Linked DNA regions of Homo sapiens: all the other regions are linked to region 1. Evidence: promoter capture Hi-C in human tissues and cell types (Jung and others, 2019). All regions are on one chromosome and are shown on one strand. Each heading gives the region's core, a stretch centred on a gene start or on the middle of the fragment in contact. The rest is flanking DNA. Distances are from core to core; before and after follow the strand shown. Region 1 holds the start of PAX6 (paired box 6). Region 2 overlaps DCDC1 (doublecortin domain containing 1). Region 3 overlaps DCDC1 (doublecortin domain containing 1). Region 4 overlaps DCDC1 (doublecortin domain containing 1).

The links. Contacts are between HindIII fragments. The study calls those that stand out against the background at their distance.
Region 2: a contact is called between a fragment that was not itself captured here and the fragment with the promoter of PAX6 in region 1, in 1 of the 25 tissues and cell types used here (lymphoblastoid cells).
Region 3: a fragment that was not itself captured here is called in contact with the fragment with the promoter of PAX6 in region 1 in 2 of the 25 tissues and cell types used here (mesendoderm cells and thymus).
Region 4: a fragment that was not itself captured here is called in contact with the fragment with the promoter of PAX6 in region 1 in 1 of the 25 tissues and cell types used here (heart left ventricle).

The regions. Positions count from the first base shown.
Region 1 is chr11:31,810,072-31,815,873 of GRCh38, forward strand. It overlaps PAX6 (paired box 6), which reads right to left and starts at 1,251. Exons shown (of 14, transcript NM_001368894.2): 1 at 1,044-1,251; 2 at 757-944. RefSeq lists enhancers at 817-1,386, 1,089-1,146, 2,494-3,462, 5,524-5,802, a promoter at 1,034-1,443 and a silencer at 4,306-4,560. The HindIII fragment of the contact is 12,830 bases long and covers 1-5,802 here.
Region 2 is chr11:31,088,357-31,094,158 of GRCh38, forward strand. It overlaps DCDC1 (doublecortin domain containing 1), which reads right to left. Exons shown (of 39, transcript NM_001387274.1): 16 at 5,694-5,802; 17 at 3,037-3,155. Among named protein-coding and RNA genes, the nearest start is that of DCDC1, 280 kb to the right of the region's middle. The HindIII fragment of the contact is 4,949 bases long and covers 1-4,598 here.
Region 3 is chr11:31,104,214-31,110,015 of GRCh38, forward strand. DCDC1 (doublecortin domain containing 1) reads right to left here. Exons shown (of 39, transcript NM_001387274.1): 13 at 2,584-2,747. Among named protein-coding and RNA genes, the nearest start is that of DCDC1, 260 kb to the right of the region's middle. RefSeq lists a silencer at 2,877-3,056. The HindIII fragment of the contact is 6,555 bases long and covers 1-5,802 here.
Region 4 is chr11:31,222,957-31,228,758 of GRCh38, forward strand. All of the region lies in intron 9 of DCDC1 (doublecortin domain containing 1), which reads right to left. Among named protein-coding and RNA genes, the nearest start is that of DCDC1, 140 kb to the right of the region's middle. The HindIII fragment of the contact is 4,220 bases long and covers 629-4,848 here.

The DNA.
Region 1 (5,802 bases), core at 1-2,500:
CCGCTCGGCTCTGAGCTCCCTCGGAGCGCGCGTTCCACCGCCTTGGCCTGGTGGCTTCCTTCCCGGCTCGCGCTAGCTCGCTCTTCCCTCTACCTCCAGCGTGCGGCTGCCTTGCCGACTGACTCCACTCGGGCTGGTGGCGGGCGCGGTGCCCCCCTCGGCGCTCGAGTGCCGGCTGACTCTTCTGCGCCGGAGCCCAGTGCGGCACAAAGCCCGAGGGCCGGCGGGCGGGCGGAGACGCGGCGAGCAGGTTCCCTCGGCGCTCCCTCGGCGAGTCCTCGGAGCGCCCGCTCTCTGCGCGTTCGCTGGGCCTCGGGCTGGACAAAGCAGCCGGCAGCGGTTGCTCTCTGCGGCCGTTCCAGGGCCTTGGGCACCACAGAGCCTCTTCGTCTTTTCCCGCGGGTCGGGAGCATTGGGCGACGCTGGGGCTAGGAGCCGCGGCTGCTGTCGCGCCTGGAGTCTCCCTTCTTCCCGCGAGCTCAGCCCGCGCTGGCGCTGGCGCTGGCGCTGGGGCTGAGCTGGCCGCCCGCCCCGAGCCCTGCGCCGCTCCCGCTCGCCGGCAGTCGCCCTCCGACGCGGGCTTTCGCTGGAAGTAGAAAGTTTGGGCTCCTGCGTGGAAACTTCTCCGGCCCAACTCTCCCGGCGTAGCAGTGGGGGAGGGGACCGGCGAGAGGGGAGGAAGGAAGGGGGGAGGAAGGGGGAGACCTGTCTGAATATTGCAATAAAAATAAAGCGAGAAGAAAGAAGCGGACTCACCTTTATGAGGCATCCTTTCTGGTTGTCACAGCTTCTGTCAAGAGTTTTGTTTGGTTGGGGTTTTTTGTGCTGCTGTTGTTGCTTGAAGACCACAATGGTTTGAAATGACGGTGTTTTAAAGGAGTTGCTGGTGAGAGTTTTCTCCACGGATGTTGCTGGGTTGGTGTGTGAGAGCAATTCTCAGATTCCTGGGAAGGAGACAGAGATTGACAATAAAATGGGCTGTCAGCGGCTGGAGAGTGAGAGATAAAGAGTGTGGGTGAGGGAAGTGGCTGCAGCCAGCACACCTATGCTGATTGGTGATGGCTCAAGTGTGTTAATGTGTGTGTGCCGGCGCCCGGCCTCGCCTCCACCGCTCCTCACTGGCCCATTAGCGAAGCCTGACCTCTGTCATCATCCTCCAGCAAAACACTTCCTCCTGCGCCTGAACCAGAGCGGGAAATGAGGCCGAGCCACGGTTCCCTTTTCAAACCCACTAATCACTCCGCAACATGCAAATGCACCGCTCGCTCTCACACAAAATATTGCTTTATGCAAAGCAGCGCCGGGGCCTCGCGCCAGCCGATTGGATGCTCCCTCTCCCCGCCTGGTGCAATTGGTCCGTTTGTTTGAATATGAATACACTTGTTTTCGGCTCCGCCGGTGGGTCCCGGCTCCTCTCCCCGGCGCAGGGCCCCCGAGCCCGGGCTCTGGCGCTCGCCTGCATCTCCCCGCTCCGCGCACGCCGAGATTCGGCGCGGCCCGCCCTGCTGCCGCGAACTTGAGCGGTCAAGTGAAGGTTTCTGGGTTGGGGGTCGCGCCCCCACTCCCCCTAAGCTGGACTCGGGACTCCCAGTCCTCGGAGGGTGCAAGTTTCTGTGCTGTCCTTTCTTGCCAACTCCAGGACAGCGTGGCCTGCCGCCCCGCCCCCGCCCGCCCCCACCCCATCCCAGCCGGGGCCCCAAGACACAGAGCACAGCGGCGGCCGCACCCCAGCCCACCTGGCCCCTTGGAAGAAGAGGAAAGGGGCGGGAGCGTCACTGGGTCCTGGCAGCTCCATTCCAGCTGCGGAGGCCGCGGCGAAGCCTAGGCCGAGAGGAGGTTGCCGGGCCGAGAACTAAACGAGGCCAGAGGCCTCCCCAGCCCAAGCCTCCAGGGCCTGTCCAAATCCTCCACCCCGCTCTCCCCGCCCTTTCTTCTCTCCTTTCTCCTTTCGGAAGCCGCGGTGCGCAGCGGAGCAGAGGCACAGCTCTGGCTGGAGAGGCCCGAGTAAACACGCCACTTACTTTGTGTACAGAGGGTTCTTGTGAAAAGCCCTGAAGAGTCCTCACCAAACACTCACCAACTTCTCCCACGTGCCATTTGTTGACTAAGTGCGGCTGCTTTTCGCAGCGCCCGAGAGGAGGGGAAGCCAGGGGAGATAAGAGGGGAGGGGGAGTGGAAGCCTGGGTGGGGGGGCGGATGACCAATGCTGGGAGGGATTCTCTCTCTCTCTCTGTGTGTGTGTGTGTGTGTGTGTGTGTGTGTGTGTGTGTCCCACTGGCGATGTCGGTATGTCAGCGTGTGTCGTGTGTGCCACCGGTCATCTGTGTGTGGTGCGTGTGTCTCCGCACCACGACTCCCTCTCCTGGGTCTGCTCAGTCCACGGAGGCAGCTCCCCTTCAGCTGTTGCCAGAAAACCGGGGAGGAAAGTAAGTAAATGGCTTTTCTCTTCTGACCACACACCAGAAGTCCATTTGTTGAATGCCGCACGATTAGGACACACCTCAGTACACTCCAAAGGCGCCCCTCGGAGCCTGCAGTTAAGGTGACAGGAGAGCGAGCGGCTGCCTGGTCCTGCGCTGTCCCGAGCTCTCTCGGCGGCTTCGGGCCACGGAGCCGGGAAGGAGAAGGAAGGCCTGGGCTGCTGTACACACCCCAGGACAGGGCGAGGGGGAATAGGGCTGAAGAGCTGAGGCAGGGAGGCTGAAATGAAGCAGCCGAAGGGTACGCTAGACTCTTCTTGACTTAGGGAAAGTGCTGAAAGTCAGAGCTCATCAATAAAATCTGCGCGACCTGAACTCGCTGCTGACTGGCCGCGTCGCCGCAGCCCCTGGCAGCCGGGACAGTGAGGACGCTGCAAGCCGCCCTGGGCCGCCGGGCCACATGTGGGCCTCACCCTCTCGTTCCTGCCTGGGACCCAGCAGCCCTGCGACCAAGGAGCCCGGGCAGGGCTCCCGGGAAGCAAAGGCCTCCCCGGCCCTAGCCAGAGGTGGGGTCGCATAACCCTCTCCCCTCCCCGGGCTGGGGAGGGCTGCCGGCTCTAACCCTTCCCCGGGAGCTCGCAGCGCCGGGAGGAAACCTGGGTCAGAGGTGAAGGAGGTGGCGCCGGGTGTCCAGGTCCGCGGCCTCCTGGGCGAGGTTTCATTTCGCAGGAGCGCGACTTTCGGAGGATGCCGGCAAGTGGGGCCGCGGCCCTGAGTCCCAGACCAGCGAAAGTCGGCTTTCTCTTTCTCTCTCCTTTTACTTTCCAAGCGAGCATTAAAGAAGCTTGGACTCAAGACTCAAGTCCGCTGTGCATGAGCGAGGGACTTGCGGGGGGGCGGGGGGGGGGGAAGTGATTCTGTCCGAACTGGAGGCGAGTATCATTTTTACAACCTCTCAATTAGCGACCGAGTGGATTAGCACCTTCTTAAGCTTTGCCTCGGAAAGAAGCAGCCGTAATCTTGTTGCTATTTCCCCCCAGGGCACTGGCTCTTTGAATCAGCTCCTTCTCCCACCCCTCCAACCCCCATCTCGCTGCGGAGAAAAGTTTTAACAAAAAATCAGAAAAGGCAAGGAGCGAGGAGTGAATGCCACTGACGTCATTGGGTGGGGAAGGGGGCTCCGGGAAAGACTCCTGGAAACTCCTCCGCACAAACAAAAAACAAAAAGGACTTGGCTGCTTCCCATGTGTCAATATTTGGGGAGGGGAGTTCAACCCCAGAATGAGGCCGAGTTTTCAAAGTTTAAGGAGAGAGGGGTGAGAGTGAGATTTCCTCGTTCTCTCTGGACTGGTCTCAAGGAAGGTGGGGGTGCTGTTCTACCTCGTGGGGAGCCTCACTCCCTCTGCCAAGTACCGGCTCTGGGGGCGAAGCGGCCTAGGGGTGTGGGGGCCGAGACTGAGGTGCGGGCGCGGTTGCCAGAGGTGTGTACAAAACCGAGACAACTCGCAGGTCGCCATTTTAATTGCGGCTACCAACACGCCCGAGGCCCACTTGCTGCCCTCCAAGACGCGGGGGGGCGGCGGGGATTGCGCTTTAGGTTCTGTCTCCTTTCCCCGCCTCCCCACAGGCCCCTGTTCCCCCCTACCCTCCGCCCCCTGTGGCCAGAGGGAGGACCTCTCAGGCCGGCGGGTGCGTTCCCGCGGGGGCCGCCGGGGTCGTCCCACCCGGTAGCGGGGCTGTCTGCGTGGAGGGAGTCCCGCTGGGGGACCGTGGCTCGCCAGAGCCTGCCCAGAGCTTCTAGCCAGTATTGATGCGTCAACATGAGGTGAGGCAAGCATCTCACCCGCACCGATCCCTGGCATTCCCCTGTGCCCACCCCATCAGGCCTTCGGGGAGGCAAAGAAGTGCCCACTTCTGGGGGGAAGTGCCTCCAGCTCCCAGCTTCAGAACCAAGAGCCTCCCATCCGGAGTTCTGACAGTTCTGACACCTCCAAACTCTCTCTTTCCCCGGTCAAGCAGAGGCGCAGCGCCGGCGCGCTGGAAAGGGTGAAGACTGGCATTTTTTGGAGAAGGAAAGTCTTGGCAGACACCTGCGTCACTTTGTAGTGCCCCAAACGTCTCTCTTTTTGCAGACCCTGGGAAGGTGGGATCCCTTGTCCGCGGAGCTGGCAAACGGGTCCAGTGAGCCCTAAAGGCAAAGGCTCCCATCCCGGCCGCCCAGTCCCTGGTGCCTCCCCCACTTCCAGGCCTTTGTCCCTCTCCTTTCTCCAGCAACCTGCCGGTTCCCGCTAACCCGGCAGCCTCGCCGAGCCCAGAGCCTAGAAAAGCCAAGAAGATCCCAGAGCCGCCCCGTGGCACCTTCAGGCTGTGGCCACTGCTCGGCTTGGGGGGAAGCCGCGGTGCCCTCGCCCTTCCTCGCCTCCTGCCAAATGGCCAGTGCTAGGGGCTCCCTGGGTTCAGTCCTCAGTCCTCTTCCGTTCGCTCTGGGAGGCCAGCCTGTCTCTCTCTCTCTCTCTCTCTCTCTCTCTCTCTCTCTCTTTCTCTCTCTGTCTTCTCCCTGCCCACCCCCAAAATACCTTTAAAATAACATTGTCCAGTGGAGTCTCCCAGCAAAGGGATTCCTAGCAGCCCAGCGGGTCAGACTCCCAAGGCTTTGCCTCCCAGTCCCTCCATGCTGTTGTCCAGATAGGAGTTAGGTTTAAAACTCCTGACATGTAGGACAACTGAAATCAGCGGCACTCTCCGATTTTTGCAAATAGGGTTCCTAGAAAAGTTTGCTTTCCATTTCATCACCCTGTGACGATCCCCCCATCTCTCTTTTCCCTGTAACCTCTGCCCCCAAGAGGCAAGAGTTCAGCTTCAAAGGAAAAGCAAGCAAGTCAAGGCCACCTCAGTCCCTTCTCCCTGGATATCCCCTCTCTAAACCGCTGCCTATTCTAAAGGCCAACGACCCGGTCCTGCGATTTGTCCCGTTGTAGACCTGGGAACAGGCAGGCGGGAACTGGGGGCTTTACTGGGGGATTTGAGGCTGGGGAGGGGGAGGGAGCAAATGTCATGGCTGGCTCGCTCAAGCATCCAGGGAACCGAAGCTAAGCGCATCCTGACGGGCTTTTAAAATGACATTGATTAGGACAAGCTGTTCCCAACCCCAGTAAGAGTTAATCTGCCTGTTAATCAAGGCACTAAGGGGCTCAATGCGAGTTTTATTAGCGACAGGAGAACAGAGGCGGCAGCCAGGGATCAAAAGCCGGGATCCCATATATTTGTCAGCGCTATCTCCAAAAAAAAAAAAAAAAGTATTTTCAATTTGAAAACAATTCGGCGCTTTTCGTCACTTCCTAACCCAGTCTCACAGAGGGTGACTTCCAAACCTGGCTAGCGG
Region 2 (5,802 bases), core at 874-3,373, 720 kb before region 1:
TTTTCTATTTCTGTTCTTTGTTCCCCTTTTCCTCTTTGTCTTGATTTGGATTAATTATTTTTAATATTTCATTTTATTTACTTTTTTGGCTTGTTAGCTATAACTCTCTACTATTTTAATGATTGCTTTGGTGATTATATATTTTTAACTTATCATAATCTACTTTCATTTGATATCACATCATTTCACAAATGGTATAAAAAAATCTTTCTTCCATTTCTCTCCTAGTGGCATTTGTGTTATTTCCATCACACATTTTATTTCTACATATTATCTCCACAATATATTATTATTATCACTATTGCTTTAAACAATCAATTATTTTTTAAAGAGACAAAAATAATTAGCACTGTGGGGTTTTGGGGGTGTTTTGTTTTTGACACACAGGCTTGCTCTGTCACTCAGGTTGGAGTGTAGTGGTGCAATCATGGCTCACTATAGCCTCGACCTCCTGCCTCAGCCTCCCAAGGAGCTGGAACTACAGGTGTAGACCTTCACTGAACCTGACTAATTTTTCTATTTTTTGTAGAGATGGAATTCCACATGTCACCCATGCTGGTCTCAAATTCCTGGGCTCAAGTGATCTGCCCACCTCAGTATCCCAAAATGCTGGAATTACGGGCATGAGCCACCATGCCAGGCCTAGTAGCATTGTTATATTACCTATATAGTCACCATTGCCAGTGCTCTATATTTCCATCTGGTATCATTTTACTTCTGTCTGAAGGACTTCCTCTAACATTGCTTGTCATGAAGATCTGCTGGTGATGAGTTCTTCAGTTTGTGAATATCTTAAGGTCTTTATATTGCCTTAATTTTTGAAAGACATTTTCACTGGGGAAAGTTTTCTATATTAACGGGTTCCTCCCCACCTCCTCTTTTAGTATTTTAAAGATGTTTTTCCACTGTCTTCTTACTTCCATTGTTACCAACAAGAAATCTGCTGTCAGCCTTATTTTAGCTCCTCTTGTACATAATACGCCTGTTCTCTCTGCTTTTAAGATTTTCTCTTTATCACTAATTTTAAACAATTCTATGATAATGTGCCTTGGTTTTGTCTCTTCATGCTTCTTGTGCTTGGAATTTGTTGAGTTCCTTGGATCAGTGGGTTATAGCTCTCAATTTTGCACATAGAAATTGTTCAGACACTATTTCCTCCAATATTTTTCTTTTCCTTGCTTTAACCTGTCAGAGACTATAAATACTCAGAAATTGGGCCATATGAAATTTTCTCACATCTCACTGATGCTCCGTTCTTTTTTTTTTTTTTGAAGTATTTGTTTTCTCTCCGGTTTTCCTTGTGAATAGTTTTGTTATCTTCTCAAGTTCACTGCTATTTTCTTCCACATTGTCTAATCTGGCATTAGACATGTTTAGTATACTTTGTCTCATATATTGTAGTTTTAATCTCTTGAAATTTGAGTTCTTTTATATCTTCCATGTATTTAGTTAACATGTTCAATCTTTCCTCTAGCTTCTTGAATATACAGAATACAGTTAAAACAGCTGCTTTAATGTCCCATCCAGTAATTCTATCATCTGTGTCATTTTTGGGTCAGTTACAATTGATTGATTTTTCTCTTTAGTATAACTGTGGACTAAATGAGCTGAAGCATCTCTGGCTCCCTGTTCCATAGTTTCGCATTGGCATTGGCATTGGCATTGCAAGTTCATGCTCAATGTGAGTCTAGTTTACAGAACTCATTTTGCTTCAGAAATCTTATTACCCAGTCTGCGTACAGTTCCATACCAAACTGAGACTTGCTTTAGGGTTGTCTGCCACTACTTAGGAACTATGTATTTAGGACTCTATTAGCACTGGAGAGTTTGCATAACACCAAGCTAACATCTTCCTTTCCCATCTGCCTGATTTTTTCAAGTGATGTACCCTGCTCATCCACTAAGGTATCTGCTACCACACTTGGCGCTCACTGGCAATTGTCTGACTGGACTTTAACTGACTGACAGTGTAGTGTTGTGGCTAAGTGTCTACTTTCAGGTTATAGGGCCTGACTGCTTGGGTTTGCCTTCCTGCCAAACCACTTAGTAGGTATGGCCTTGAGCAGGTGATTAACTTCTCTGTACCTCAATATCCTCACCTGTAAAGATAATAATGATACCTACCCTATCAGATTGTTGTAAGGATAAAATTTGACAATGAGATTTAAGGACATTAGAATAGTATCTGGCTTAGACACTTTGTTGTTAGAGTAAGCAGTGCAGACTGGATCTATACCTGGGAATTTGAGTCTGTAGATCACATTCTTAATCATTACATGATATCCTTATATCTGCTTTGCAAGTTAGAGAAAACTTCCCTTCTGTATTTATGGCTGGATCAACTTCTCTGATGATTGCAGCCTAAGCATATCCTAAGTGCCTATATAGCCAGAAGTAGTTGGTAATGGCTTTTTAAGTCCTGAGGTATGATAGAAATTGTTTTTTTCAACACTAAGTGAAAACAAACATCAAAACAAAAGACCAAGAAAAAAGAAAGTGACTAGAAAACAATATTTTGAGACTCTTGGAGATAAATCAACTTTCTTCCTCAATCTGCTTTCCTTTATTATATCTTCCTAAATCAGAAAAAAACAAATAAGAAGGACACTTACAGTCCGTTACAAGCCAGCATTTTTTGGTCTCTGTGATTATTCTTTCACAGTTCAATGTTTTGTATTCAGAAGATGGAAAAAGGTTATGAATATACACAAAAATTTAAGTTTGTTAATTAACAATCAAAATGGATATAAAGAAATGAGTTCTGATAATTATAGAGTAAAGCAGCAGTTTGTCTACGACATAGATACATGTTGAAGGCCAACATTTCACCTTTTAAATATCTTTAAAACACTACCAAACTAAGTGGCATACATTTTCAAGCTTACTTTGGATTCAGAAATTAATATTGTTATTATGAACACAAATTTAAACATTGAATGAATATTCAATCCAAACCAGGAGGCATCACAATTGAACTGCTCAGAATTCTTGAAATTAGCATTTATTATCTTGAGCTAAATAATTTATAAGCATTACCTTTTCTGTAAGATTAATTTATATCCTTCTAGTGATGTTCCCTCAGCAGCCTTGACTCTGATAGGATGACCAATAGCCAGGCAGCCCTGAGTTATCGCTCGGCTCAGGATCATTCCAGTCTTCCAATGAATAGAGAGGGGGAGAAAGGTCTAAATAAGTTAAAAGAACCAGAAAATTCAACAATGTGTCACAAATAGTGAGGTCATTATGCCTGGATAACCCTGGATATTAACAGTTGCTGAAAGTGAAACACTACCCACAACTTAGCAGTCAGCGAGCCCTGCTCAGAATCAGTAATCTTCTGTCCAACAAGGGTGGCATTTTACAGTTCAGTGCGAAATAAAACAGACCTTGATATCTTCATTTGTCTTTTTTTTTCTGTGCATATTTCACAGTGCAGCAATTTGGGGTCCATCACGTGTCACTTGCTGTAGTTATAACTACAGAGCTTACCGGAAATATGTATGCACAGAAAAAAAATAGTGCAGTGAACTGAAAAGACTGAAACAAATCCTTAACCTTTGTATCAATTTAAAGTTTTACTCTGGGTCTAAATATCATGGGTTAAACATTTTAAGGTGGTTTGTGAACTGCTTTTATTTTAAATGTTAGGATTTTCTGCCAAGGAAATTAAAGGGGAATATTGCTTGAAGGGCCATTTAACCATTTTCTTACTTAGTGAGTCAACACAACATTTTTTATAAGTGACAACCATAGAGAAATTTGTCTACATCTACTGGAGATTTATGGCACGTAAAATTCTCTCTTAATAGGTAAAAAGATGTATTTTTAAAACAGGAAGAGAGAGTTCAATCTTAAAGGATTTTCAGAATTGTTTCCTTTTTAGCATATACTTTATTTCTCATGTGTTTGCAGTGTGGAAAAGAAACATGATGATGACTGATGACTTACGAAAAATATTTCTAAAAAAAATTGGTTTTAGTAAGTACTGAATGAAATCCTTGTTTGATCATGCTTGTCTATACAGAAAAAAGAACTGCTTAGGGTGAGGAAAGGCAGCCATCATTTATTAAGCACTTTCTGTATACCAGACACCATGCTTGAACATCACATATGCTTTCTCATTTCATCTTCACAGCAACTGTGCAAAGCAGATAAGACTAACATCATTTATAGAAGAGAAAACAGTAGTTCAATGCAGCTAAGTAACTTTCCCAATGTCACACAAGAGATTTCAATTATTTAATAACTCCAAAACTATACTCTTTTGGTAGGCATTCCAATTATTTTTGAGGAGATTTTAGACAAGTACATGTTTTCTGCTATCATGAAATTCTAGAAACAGATACCATGAAATGAAAGAATATGGGATCTGAGAATGGACCTTCCATAGCAACTGGTCCAACTCTTTTTGATAGAACACCAAGGCCTAGATACCATGTGTGACTTGTCTGCTGTCATATAGTTATTCAGTGGCAGTGCTGGGACTAAAACACTTCCATTATGCTCACAGGTGAGTCAAATATAGAGGAGTGTTTTATATCACAATGAAAGTTCTGAAGTCAAAGAGACCAAGAATCTTTCTTCTGCTATTACTAACCTCAGTTTCTTCAGCTGTATAATAAAAATCTGCACAGTTCTTGTAACATTAAATGAAATAATGAATGTGAATAAAGTACCTAATGTAATGTCTGACATACAGTATTCAACTAAGTGGAGATGTTATTATTATTAAATCAGAAACAAAATACCATGTAAAAAGGGCAAATAGTTAACATAGACTCCAGCTGGAAATCCAGATTTCAGGAAAAGCTCATGTAAACTTACTATGCTGTGATATATGAAATAAATAATATGTCTTAGTACCTTTGTGTCTTAATTATTCTATATGTTTGTTTTTAACTTTTAAAGAACAATAGCTAAGGGCAATCCAAAATTTCATTTGCGAAAATAGTGTCAATCTTCCCTCCTCCCAGCAAACTTCATTGGGTGACTTCGCATTCACAGGAGTGCTAAGTAGTAGCAAAATCATCTGTGATGACGGGACAAAGGGAGATACAGGAAAGATAATTGTGAACTGCATCATCTCTTTTCAACATAAATACATATTTACAAAATGTACTGCAGTAGTAAGATGAAAGGAAAGGACAATTTTATGTTCTTCTATAAGTCATATACAATAGTACAATAATAAAGTGAAAAATATTAAATATTACCAACACACAGGAACAAAATGTGTTAGGCACTGCTCATGTTTATACTCAGGGATTTCTTTTAAAACTACGTCCTTGCTAAGACAATATGCAAAGTTGGTATATGTTGGTAATCTACCAGGCTCAGGAAAGCTGAGGGGTAAAACTCAAAATGAAGATCTAGGAGTAGAAGCACATTCAGACAAATCTCATGAAAATGATGAGTCTGTGGACTACAAACAAATTCTATGCTTGGTTTAAATACACTGTGAGGTATAAACTAATCAGCAGCATGTCTGATAGTGAACTGAATGCTCATTTGAGAATCTACAGAAGTCCCGTGGGCTAGGCAATACCAACGGCAGAGATGGCATCTATAACAGCCAACAATTTATCACGCTTTCACTTGTATGCCCATGTGCATGAGAGCACCAGGTGCCAGCAAGTGCCGTGAGCCAGCAAGCAAGGGGAGGTCACTCAGCAAAAGCAGACACTCTTAGGTACCTTGGTGATCAGCCACACACTGGCTACAGGCCACAGGATCGATGGCGCTATTTGACTCCTGCTGCTTGCTTCACTGCCTGAGAAACTCCACTTTCCAATGGAAACAGAG
Region 3 (5,802 bases), core at 1,565-4,064, 700 kb before region 1:
ATTGTTAGGCACACTGTTTTAAGTGAATTTGGAAATTAAAATCAAAAACAGATTTTAAATGAAAACAATGGCCACTATTGTACACTATGAGCCATTTTTCTCTAAATTGCTTAAGACTCGCTATTTATCTCTAGAATTAAAAATCAACGACATCACCTCTGCAGTCTTGTTGCCAAAAATATTTAAACTGAATCTAATCATGAGAAAACACTCAGACAAACCCAGAATGTGGGACATTCTACAAGAAAAATGCCTGGACTCTTGAAAAATAAATTAATGTCATGAAAAACAAAACAAAAGATTAAAAGAATATTCTAGATTAAAGACAACTAAAGAAAATAACTAATATAATACAAGGAAGTATATTTGGATACTGGATTACAAAAAGCTCTAAAGCATATTTTGGTTAGCTTGAATATAGAGTGTATATTAGAGGATATTACATTACTGTTGACTGTGTTAGATATTATAATGTGGTGACACATAACTCTTCTTCAGTTATGTGACCTGAAGCATTTAGGAGTGAAATTTTAATGTCTGGAATTGCTTTCAAGCCGTTCAAGAGGGAGAGAGAGATGGGAGATATATAACAGGTAAAACAAATGTGGCAAACTCTTTAAATTGGTGAATCTAGGTGAAAGATATACAGGAGCTCATTGTACTATTTTTTCAAATTTCCTTAGATTTAAATTTTTTCAAAATAAAAAATTGAAGGAAAAATAAAATATTCAAAATAGAAGCGGACATCGGCAAAAATCATCTTTTACAAATGAGTAGCTTGACCCCTTCAAATCAACATAAATTAGACTCAGTAGAATTACTTACTGAAAATGAAAACGATTTACTTAACACGTATTGCACATTTTCTCAACATATTTCAAACTAGACGGCAATAACTTTTTAGACATATACATTTTAAACATTCCTATGGTAGCAAAATGCTGTAATGGTTTCCTGGTGCTTTATGTTGGACTGGAAACCAAAAAAATACATTAAACTGTTAAAATCACAATGAAATACAAATAAATATATGCACTGGTAAATTTCTCCGACTACAATTCTCAGCTGATTTTTAGAATATCTCAGATTTTTGGCATTTTACCAGTTATTCCGCAAATATGATCCAATTAGCCAAAAACAAATGTTTAATATTATTAAAATGCTGTATTATAGCAAACATCATTAAACGTATCAAAATTAGTGAGTCATTACTTTCACTTTGACAATAATATTAAAAAGAAATAATAATGACACATTTTATTAAAGCCTATCCTTGTAATAGGAAGGGCTTACTAGATTACTCAAGAATTCTTGCCACTTTAAAATTCATCAGTTTTTATCATTGAAAAAACAATTCTACTTACAACGTAATTAAATTATATTTTGAAATTTATCTATGGACAAAAACTTACCATTCCTTAGAGATTTTTTAATTCTCTAAATTACACAGCCTAAGAAATCATCAAGCATTTTAATATTTCATCTGGGACAGATGAAATAAAATTTTGTAACATGTGATCCACAACTTATTCTAGCAACATCTTCCAAAACCTTGATGGATTTCTGAGTACATTTGTTTCAGTATTCGAAATTTTAACTATTTGAATATATAGCAAATCCAATAGCCCTTGCTTTGCTAAGATTTAGGTTTATTTATGCTATTTTCATTATAGTTAATATATGATCAGTTATACTCTATATGAAAAATTATTTTCCCTTATTCTGTTCTACAGATAATAAGCTAAAAAAATTAAAAATAGAGAAGTGTGTTTAAGTTTCCTGACAAGCAGTTTCAGAGTTCATCTGGATGTGTTCTGTCAAAATATGCATAAATTTCCTAGATATTGAAAACAACAGCCCAGCTCATCAGTGCCTATATACTGCAGCCTTTTTCTTTCTTCAGAAACACAGATAATTTTATGCAGGAATTTACCAATCTACAAAAATTTACACAATGCTCAGCAATAACCAGTAATTATTGTGGGATAATGTAAGGTGCTTTTGAGGAATATAACTTTGATAGGATAGGGCTTACAAGCTTTACCAATTTATCTTTAGCTGTCCTGTCATTGGTGCTTAAAAGGTTAAGACTTTATTTGTGAAAACATAGAGAGATAGTGGGGAATCATGTTGTCTACAGCTTCATAAATCTTGCTTAAGATCCTTTTCAATTACCATCCATTTCTCCTTTAAAAAGGGACAAAAAAAATAGAGGAGTGGAAGCAGGTCAGGGCAGTGTGCGACAATGACAGTGTGATGGGCTTGGGCCCCCCGTGGCGTTTCCATCTGCTATCATTAAGGTGACTACTCAGACATGAACAAATCCCTCTTGCTGTGCTGACAGGCAGACTTCAAGAACTATGACAAGGCATTAAGACAGAAAGTCACAGACAGAGATAGAGAGAGAGAAGGAGATGTCATATTCCACCAACAATACTGCCTTGCAAAAACACCTCTAAAATTTTATTGGAATTCAAAATAAAAAATGTTTCATGAAGGGTGCTACTTGACTTCTCAAATCCGCTTTCAAATTAGCTCTCCCCTGGAAAGATTGAGGACAGAAAACAAACCCCTTGCTCCTACCTGTATGCTCTACCATAAGAGACCCAAATTTTTTGCTCATTCTTCAGCGAAAGTGGATTCTTAATTTCTTGGCCATTCTCATCAAAAAGCCGCATTGAAGAATAATTGAGGCCTGGTGGGTTGATGGAAGAACCTTGAAGCCTTTGATGAATCTTGAGAAGTAACTGGTTGGGGGTTAGAGGGGCAGAGGGGATAGAGGAGAATAAATAACCTAAAATGGGAACATCTGTAATAAACTGTCTCTACTCTGTAACAAATGAAGTCCAAACAAATGATAATTAAATTCATATAGAATGTTAAAAGAAGTGTGAAATGACGGCAATGTTTAGCTCAGTGTAAAGTAACAAAATGAGCATGGGCTTTTAACCAGCAGGGGGGGCCACAGGCTTGTGATTGAGCTCTGACCCTTTGGCACGGGGACTGAAAGCAGATGTGACAGTCTTACAGAAAGAGCATTTAGCTTCTACACATGGTAACGGTCCTCTTTGATAAGGGTTACGCTTTTCTTGTCTGAGCTACACATTTTGTTAGGGGCCTTCCAGACCACGTTCAAGTTTCACAATCACCAATCTCCCTGTCCCCAGCAAATCTCAGGTAACCAGTAGTAGGACAACTGCCAAAATTAAAATGACTTTTAGCCTAAGTTGGTTCACTTACAAAGATCTCTCCCTAGAAGCATTTTAATTATGAACCCTGAAATAGCTTGTGGACATCTTCAATAATGAATGTTTTTAAGTTGTAAGAAAGACATCATGGAAGTGTGAAGTATGAAAAGCTGTCATTTAATATTTAAGATAATAGCATTATCAGTGTTTGCTTCTATCTTGCATTTAGAGTCTCTAAATTATCAAGATATTTCTAATTTAGGGCATATTTCAAATATAAAGTAAATCTAACAGAACTGTGCTGCATATGGTATTTGAAAAGACATTTTTCATTATCCTCTGTCACCTTTGTTTAAGTGTTTCAGCCTTTGCTCTTCCTTGCTCTGCACTCCACCCTATCCATCACTCTTCCCCCAGCCTTCTGTCACGGGGTTCCTTTTCATCTCTCCCTTGTCAGTTCTTGTGTCTCTCGGTTTCTTGTTATCCTGTAATCCCTGCAGGGATGTAGATATAGCTGTGGTCTTTTCTGGCCTAACTGCAGTTCAGGGTCCTTTCTTTTCTTTTCTTTTTTGCTCCTCTATTAATCCCCATTGAGGGTATATTGAGAAGTGCTAAATGCTGAGGCTTAGAGGAAAGAAGGGAAAGTCACAGGTCTTCCATGCATCTCAGGTGTCTCACGATTGGCTGTAAACTCTTGACTGAGCAAATATTTCTTTTGACCAGAAACTGCATGTATAGGATCTAAGTATTAGGCTTTGTCCTACTTAGAGATACGTAATAGTATCTCCAACTTAGTGTTTTCATTAGCTGAAGATTTTTAGTCTTGAGCATTGGAAAGGCATTAATACTTCCCATCCAGCATAGCCAATTCCTTTGAATTAAAAATGATCATTACTCTCCTCTTTAGGTGTATAAGAGGCAAAGGTGTTAGAATAGTAAAAATCTATATTGCCTTGGTTATTTTTCCATGGAAATGGCAAACATATTTTGAAATCTATAGATTGTATTTCTAAAGCCCTACATTTATTTTTGTGTGGTTTCAGCTCTTGAGCTTATTTTTGTTGCTTTGCTATTATTTCAGAAAACATGTTATGCTGATCATTTTTTAAATCACAGAGATTTTGCTTTACAGGCATCACCTTTTTATAAAAAGGAATGATACCAAAGATTTAAGGCCTGATCCAGGAAGGAAATGTGTGTACAAAGAAGAGGGATGCGAGGTAGACATGTGATGTGAGCATCTGACCACTTAACCAAATTCACTTTCACAGGAGTTGCATTGCAATCTCTATTTTCTCAAGTTGGTGACAGACTGCATTTTAGGTGTTCAAAGATGAGCATTCAACAGTCTTCAGGAGGTAAGGGCCTCTGTGCCCTTCATCTTTAGGTCATTGGTTAGGGCTTTGCTGTGGCAACCAAAAATTGTGATAATCTTCACCCATTTATCTTTAAAGCTATCATCACCAGGCCTTTATAGCATAAGAATTTGTTCAAGAACCTGAAAAGAGTGTGAAACATCTTAGGCTAGTGATTGAAACACGTGTCCACACAAGGGAGCAGTTGTCCTTGGGTGGTGTCACAAGGGCTCTCCCAAAGAACTTTATAATGCCCCTAATTAATGTTTTTGCCCCAGATTTATTGCATACAGAAGCACAGCACAGCTCAATTTCAGTGTGCTATAAGTCAACACAAAAAGTTTCTATAGAATAATATCTTCATTTTTTTTTTTTTTTTTGAGACAGGGTCTCACTCTGTCACCCAGGCTGGAGTGCAGTGGTGTGATCTCAGCTAAATGCAACCTCAGCATCCCAGGCTCAAGTGATCCCCCCACCTCAGCCCCCGAGTAACTGGGACTACAGGCACATGCCACCATGCCAGGCTAATTTTTTTTATTTTTTGTAGAGACAGGATTTTGCCATGTTGCTCAGGCTGGTAAAATATTCTAATGTAAAAAGCCGGGGAGACAGGTGAAAAATCCTATGAAGGCCTTTGTGTCATGGTGATTTGTGTAATCAGTTATGTTATGGTAAAAAGAAACCAGCCAAGGCTCTGGATCCTTCTCTCTCTAATCAAAGTAGCTTTTCTTCCTCTCTTCCAGGTCCAGCTAATGATCCAATGAGAGCATCCCAATTCATATACAACTTTTTCGATTGGCTGTAAAAGCCAGGTAATGGATACCACCAGGAGAGGTAAGTCTGAGGGTGCTGAACTGAAGGGAGAAAAAGGGAGCAAGTTACTGAACAAAGGCAAGGCAAGAGAGCCCAAAACACTGCTGTGCGCTCGGGTGCATAACCCCAATTTGTAAACAACAGGCTGTTCAGTGTCCTTTTATGCAAGACAAAGACCCAAAATAAAGAGCCTGAGCATGTTGGTTCTGCCTGAGAAACATCCCAATTGTCTGGAAAACAGAAAAAGGTAAGAGTGCCTAAGATGTAAGCAAAACTAGCTGAACTTGCTCACAATGAGCAGGGAGAAGACCAAGGCTGCATGTTAATTACTCAGAATCTAGGGTTTAGAAATACCCTAGATCCAGGGCATACCCTCCACTGAATATATCACTTTTTTTTACTGTAAACAAGAGGGAAATCCTGATGTATCAAAACCAGGGCCAAGC
Region 4 (5,802 bases), core at 1,489-3,988, 590 kb before region 1:
ATAATGTTTAACCTTGAAAGTAATATAATTCGTGCTAATAAAAACAATAAACTATGTATATATTGAAATATCAAACATTAAAATATTATACATGATTCTGAAATAGTTACATTGGTACAATCATTTTGAAAGACTTACCAAGAGTTTAATACAGTCACCAACTTAGACTCAATAATTTTCAATTTGAACATTATCCTGAATAAATAATTGCAAAGAAATTGATTTCAGGAAAAGAAAACAATGATGTAATTATATTACAATAGGAGAATGGTTATTATGTACAATAGCACATATCCATAGTTGATCTCTTTAGCATTGCTCAGACATATCATTAACTATTATTTGATAAATAAGTCACAAAGGGTATGTATGTATGTATTTATGTATGTATGCATATGTGGGAAAATGAGGAGAAATGAGAATCTTATAAATTGCTGGTGAAAGTGTTAACTAATACAATAGCCATATAATGTAAACAGACAATAGCCCACAATGATATGCATACTGCATACTTTTTTCATACTAATTTTACTTCTAGATATATACCCTGGAGAAATTTTAATACATGCACGTGAGTTTTACATAAAGTACACAAATATTTGTAGGAGCATTGTTTGTTACAGTAAAATTTGGAAAGACACTAAATGTCTGTCAACAAGTAATAAGTAGACTGTAGTATGTTCATACAATAAAATGAATAAATTACTGTGTGGAAGTTAAAAGTCAATGCATAACATCTTTATATTTCAGCATAAATATGTCTCATAAATATAATGTTGCAAGTGCAGAGTGACATGTATAGTATATCATTTATATAAAGTACAAAAAAGGCAAAACACATATATATGTAATATATACATATAAATATGAACGTATATGCTTTAATATACACATATGCATATATACATATGATTGGTTTGGCTGTGTCCCCACCAAATCTCAACTTGAATTGTATCTCCAAGATACAATCCCACATGTTGTGGGAAGGACCTAGGGTAGGGGGAGGTCATTGAATCATGGGGGCCGGTCTTTCCCATGCTAGTCTCATGATAGTGAATAAGTCTCATGAGATCTGATGGGTTTATCAGGGGTTTCTGCTTTTGCTTCTTCCTCATTGTCTCTTGCTGCCACCATGTAAGAAGTGCCTTTAGCCTTCCTTCATGATTCTGAGGCCTCCCCAGACATGTGAAACTGTAAGTTCAATTAAAACTCTTTTTCTTCCCAGTCTCAGGTATGTCTTTATCAGCAGCACAAAAACAGACTAATACAACATATATGTAAATATATACATATACATATATATATAAGGACATCCTGGTCAATAAATGGTGCTGGGATAACTAGCAAGCCACATGTAGAAGAGTAAAACTGGGTCCACATCTCCCACCTTATACAAAACTCAACTCAAGATGGATCAACGATCAAAATCTATGACCTGAAACCATAAAAATTCTAGAAGATAACATCAGAAAAACTCTTCTAGACATTGATATGGGCAAAGAATTCATGACTAAGAACCCAAAAGCAAATGCAAAAATAAATAAATAAATAGGATCTAATTAAACTAAAAAGCTTCTACACAGCAAAAGAAACTATCAGCAGAGTAAACAGACAACCCACAGAGTAGGAGAAAATATTTGCAAACTATGCAGCAGACAAAAAACTAATATCCAGAATCTACATGGAACTCAAACAAATCAGCAAGAAAAACACAAATAATCCCATCAAAGGGTGGGAAAAGGACATAAATAGACAATTCTCAAAGGAAGATATACAAACAGCCAGCAAACATATGAAGAAAATGCTCAACATCAGTAATTATCAGGGAAATGCAAATTAGAACCACAATGAGACACCACCTTACTCCTGCAAGAATGGCCATAATTTAAAAATCAAAAAATAATAGATGTTAGCATGGATGTGGCAAAAAGAGATGTACCACTCTGCTGGTGGTAATGTAAACTAGTACAATGACTATGGAAAACAGTATGGAGATTTCTTAAAGAACTGAAAGTATAAAACTACCATTTTATCCAGCAATCCCACTACTAGGAATCTACCAAAAAGGAAAAGAAGTCACTACGTGAAAAAGACACATGCACATGCATGCTTATAGCAGCACAAGTCACAATTGCAAAAATATGGAACAAGCCTAAATGCCCATCAATCAACAAGTGGCTAAAGAAAATGTGGCATATATACATCATGGAATACTACTCAGCCATAAAATGGAATGAAATAATGGCCTTTGCAGCAACTTGAATGGAGCTGGAGGTCATTATTCTAAGTGAAGTAACTCAGGAACATACAATATCCAGAAAACTAAATATTTTACATTCCCACTTATAAGTGGGAGCTAAGCTATGAGGAGGCAAAGGCATAACAATGATATAATGGACTTTGGGGACATGGGGGAAAGTTGGGGGGGAGTGAAGGTTAAAAGACTACATATTGGGTACAGCATAAACTGCTCAGGTGACAGGTGCATCAAAATCTCAGAAATCACCACTCAAGAACTTATCCATGTAACCAAAAGCTACCTTTTCCCCAAAAAACTATTAAAATAAAATAAAAGAATAACAATATATACATATAAATATGTAAATATGTGTTATATATACATATGCATACATGCTAATATGTACATATACATATATGTAATATATATAATATAAAATATGACTGGAGATTCAGATAATGGTTACCTCTAGAGAGGAAGCACAGGGAAGAAAAATTATATATATATATCTAGGTAGATATATATCTATATCTACCTAGATACATATAGATATAGATATGCTTTATTTCCTGAAAAAAAAATCTGAAGAAAGGATTTGATCGAGTTGGATTTGGCTTACAGAAATGTTTACCCAATCTTTCGTGTCTGGAGTATTTCATTATTTTGAAATAAGGAAAACAAAGAAGTACATTCCTATTCCATATAGGAGAACAGGAAACACAGAGCTAGGAAGGAGTATGGTATGGTTATTGAACAGTGATAATATTAGCTTGACTTAAGAACAGATTCTAGTATTAAGGAATGAAGAGAAATAAATATGAACTGATAGGAGAATCTTGATGATGTAATACTTAAGGAACCACGCTGAGGAATGTAAGAGGAAAGATAGTATTTGTATTTGGAATATAATTTTCTCTTATATTTGGAATTTTGAAACTATAATGACTTAATTCCAGGCAAGCTGCTGTATCTGCAGCTTTCTTCTCTAATGGCTTCTTGCAGAACTGAAGGTGACTCATGTCCTAGTTCAGCCTGGTGGCTATCACAGAAACAAACCAAAATAAAGTACCCAGAAAAAAGGACTGGAAAAAAAATAAAATAAAATAAATGGCAAACTAATATTGTGTAACTAGAGTCCAGAAAAATAAGAAAGAGGGTTAGGAATAGAAAAAGTATTTTAAGACATAAAGGCCAAAAATATAACAAAAATTAGAGCCACACATATCCAAAAAATTCAACAAACTGTAAGAAGGTAAACCCCCGAATAAAAACACAAAAGACACTTCATGATCAAACTGCCAAAAAAAAAAGTGATCAATATAAATTCTTAAAAGCAATAAAAGAAAAAGTCATTACATAAAGATGTACTAAGGTAAGAATACTATCCAATGTTACATCAGAAACTTGTGATGAATAGAACAACATCTTTAAAGTCTGGGGAAGAAAATCTACTGACTTATTCCAAACTCAATGAGAAGGAAGGAAGATCTCAAAAAAGCAAGATCTCATCTCTAAAAAAAAAAAAAAAAGAAAGTTTTAACAAAAGACATTAAAAGAAGTTCTTCAGGCAAAAGGAAGACAACCTAAGAGGACGCTTGGATTTATTAAGGAATAAAGACTATCAAAACCCATAAGTATGTGGGTGAAGAAAAAGACATTTTTTCTCATTTTTAAATCTCTTTTAAAATTTTCTGTTTATATAGGAATACAAGATTTTCTGGGGAAAATAACAGATAAAAATAAAATAGACGACAACAGTGGCACAAAGAATAGGAAGGATAAATAAAAACATATGTTTCTTACATTATAATGAATAAGTATTATTCAAAGATGGAGTATAAAAAGCTAAATATATAAACAAAACATCCTAGAGCAACTACACATACACTCATGCATACAAAGCAAGCCAAAAAGATATAGCTAATAAGCTTATGGTAGCTGTGTTAGGCCATTTTTGCATTGCTATAAAGGAATGACAGAGGTTGGATAGTATATAAAGAAAAGAGGTTTTATTGGCTCACAGTTCTGTAGACTGTACAAGCATGGCTCCAGCATCTGCCTCTGGTGAGGGCCTTTGGAAGCTCATAATCATGGTAGAAAGTGAAGGAAGAGTCAACACATCAAATGGTAAGAGGAGGAGCAAGAGAGAAGGGGGAAGTTCCAGGCTTTTTTAAACAACCAGGTCTCACGTGAACCAACTGAGCAAGGGGATGGTGCTAAACCATTCAGGAGGGATTTACCCCCATGATCTAATCACCTTCCACCAGGCCCCACTTCCAACAGTGGGAATCACATTTCAACATGACACTTGGGGGGAAAAAAATACTAACTATTTCAGTAGCAATGAAGTGACCACAAAGAAACTTATTTTATCCAAAATAAAGCAGTTTAAAAAGATAAAATGATAAACAAATGAGACAAATAAAACACAAATGACAAGATAAAATAATTAAACCCAGTCATATTAATAATTATATTAAATGTAAATGGTCTAAACATCCCAATTAAAAGAAATTTTCAGAATGGAGAAAATAGCAAGGCCCAAAATATTATTTCTACAAGACAGAATATAAAGATATAGGTAAGTTAAAATTAAAGGATAGAAAAGTAAAAGGACATTATTTTATAATAACATTTGTGAAAAGAAAATTGGAGTAGCTTTATTAAAATAAAACAAAATGGACTTCAGAACAAAGAATATTACCAGGAATAAAGAGGAACATTTCATAAGGATTTTTAAGTTAATTTATCAATAAAATATAGCAATCTTAAAATAATACAAACCCAATAACAGCACTTCAAAATATATTTAGAAAACATTGTTAGAACTGAAAGGAGGAATAGACAAATCCAAAGTTACAACAAGAATAACAGAAGATGTGAAAAACTCTATCAACTAGCTTGAACAAACTGACATTGAAGAACACTCAAATCAATAAGACAGAACAAACATGGAACATTAATTTGGATATATTTTGAGCCATAAAGTAAATCTCAAAAATTTTCAAAGGATTAAAATTATACATAGTATGTTATCTGACCACAATGGAAACTAGAAACCAATTACAGAAAGATATACAGAAACCCAAAAATAATGGCAAATTAAACAACATATTTCTAAATAACAGATGTGAAAATCACAAGAAAAACTTTAAAGTCTTTTGAATTAAAGAAAAATGAAAACAGCGTACTGAAATTTGTTAGGCATAGCAAAAGCAGGGCTTTGAGGGAAATTTATAGCATTAAATGCTTACAATAGAAAAGTAGAAAGGTCTAAATCAATTATCTAAGCTTTTGCTTTATGAAACTAGAAAAAGAAATATCAATTAAACCCTACATAAGCAGAAGTAAGGAATTAATGAAGCATAAAATCAATGAAATAAATAGCAGACCAAAAATAGAAAATCAATTAGATGAAAAGCCATTTCTTGGAAAATATCAATAAAATTAATCAACTCAGCTAGACGAGTTAAGTAAAAAATGAGAGGTTAGAAATTGCCAATATAAGGAATTAAAAAGCAAATTCTATAGACTTCAAATGAATGATAATAAATATTATAAAC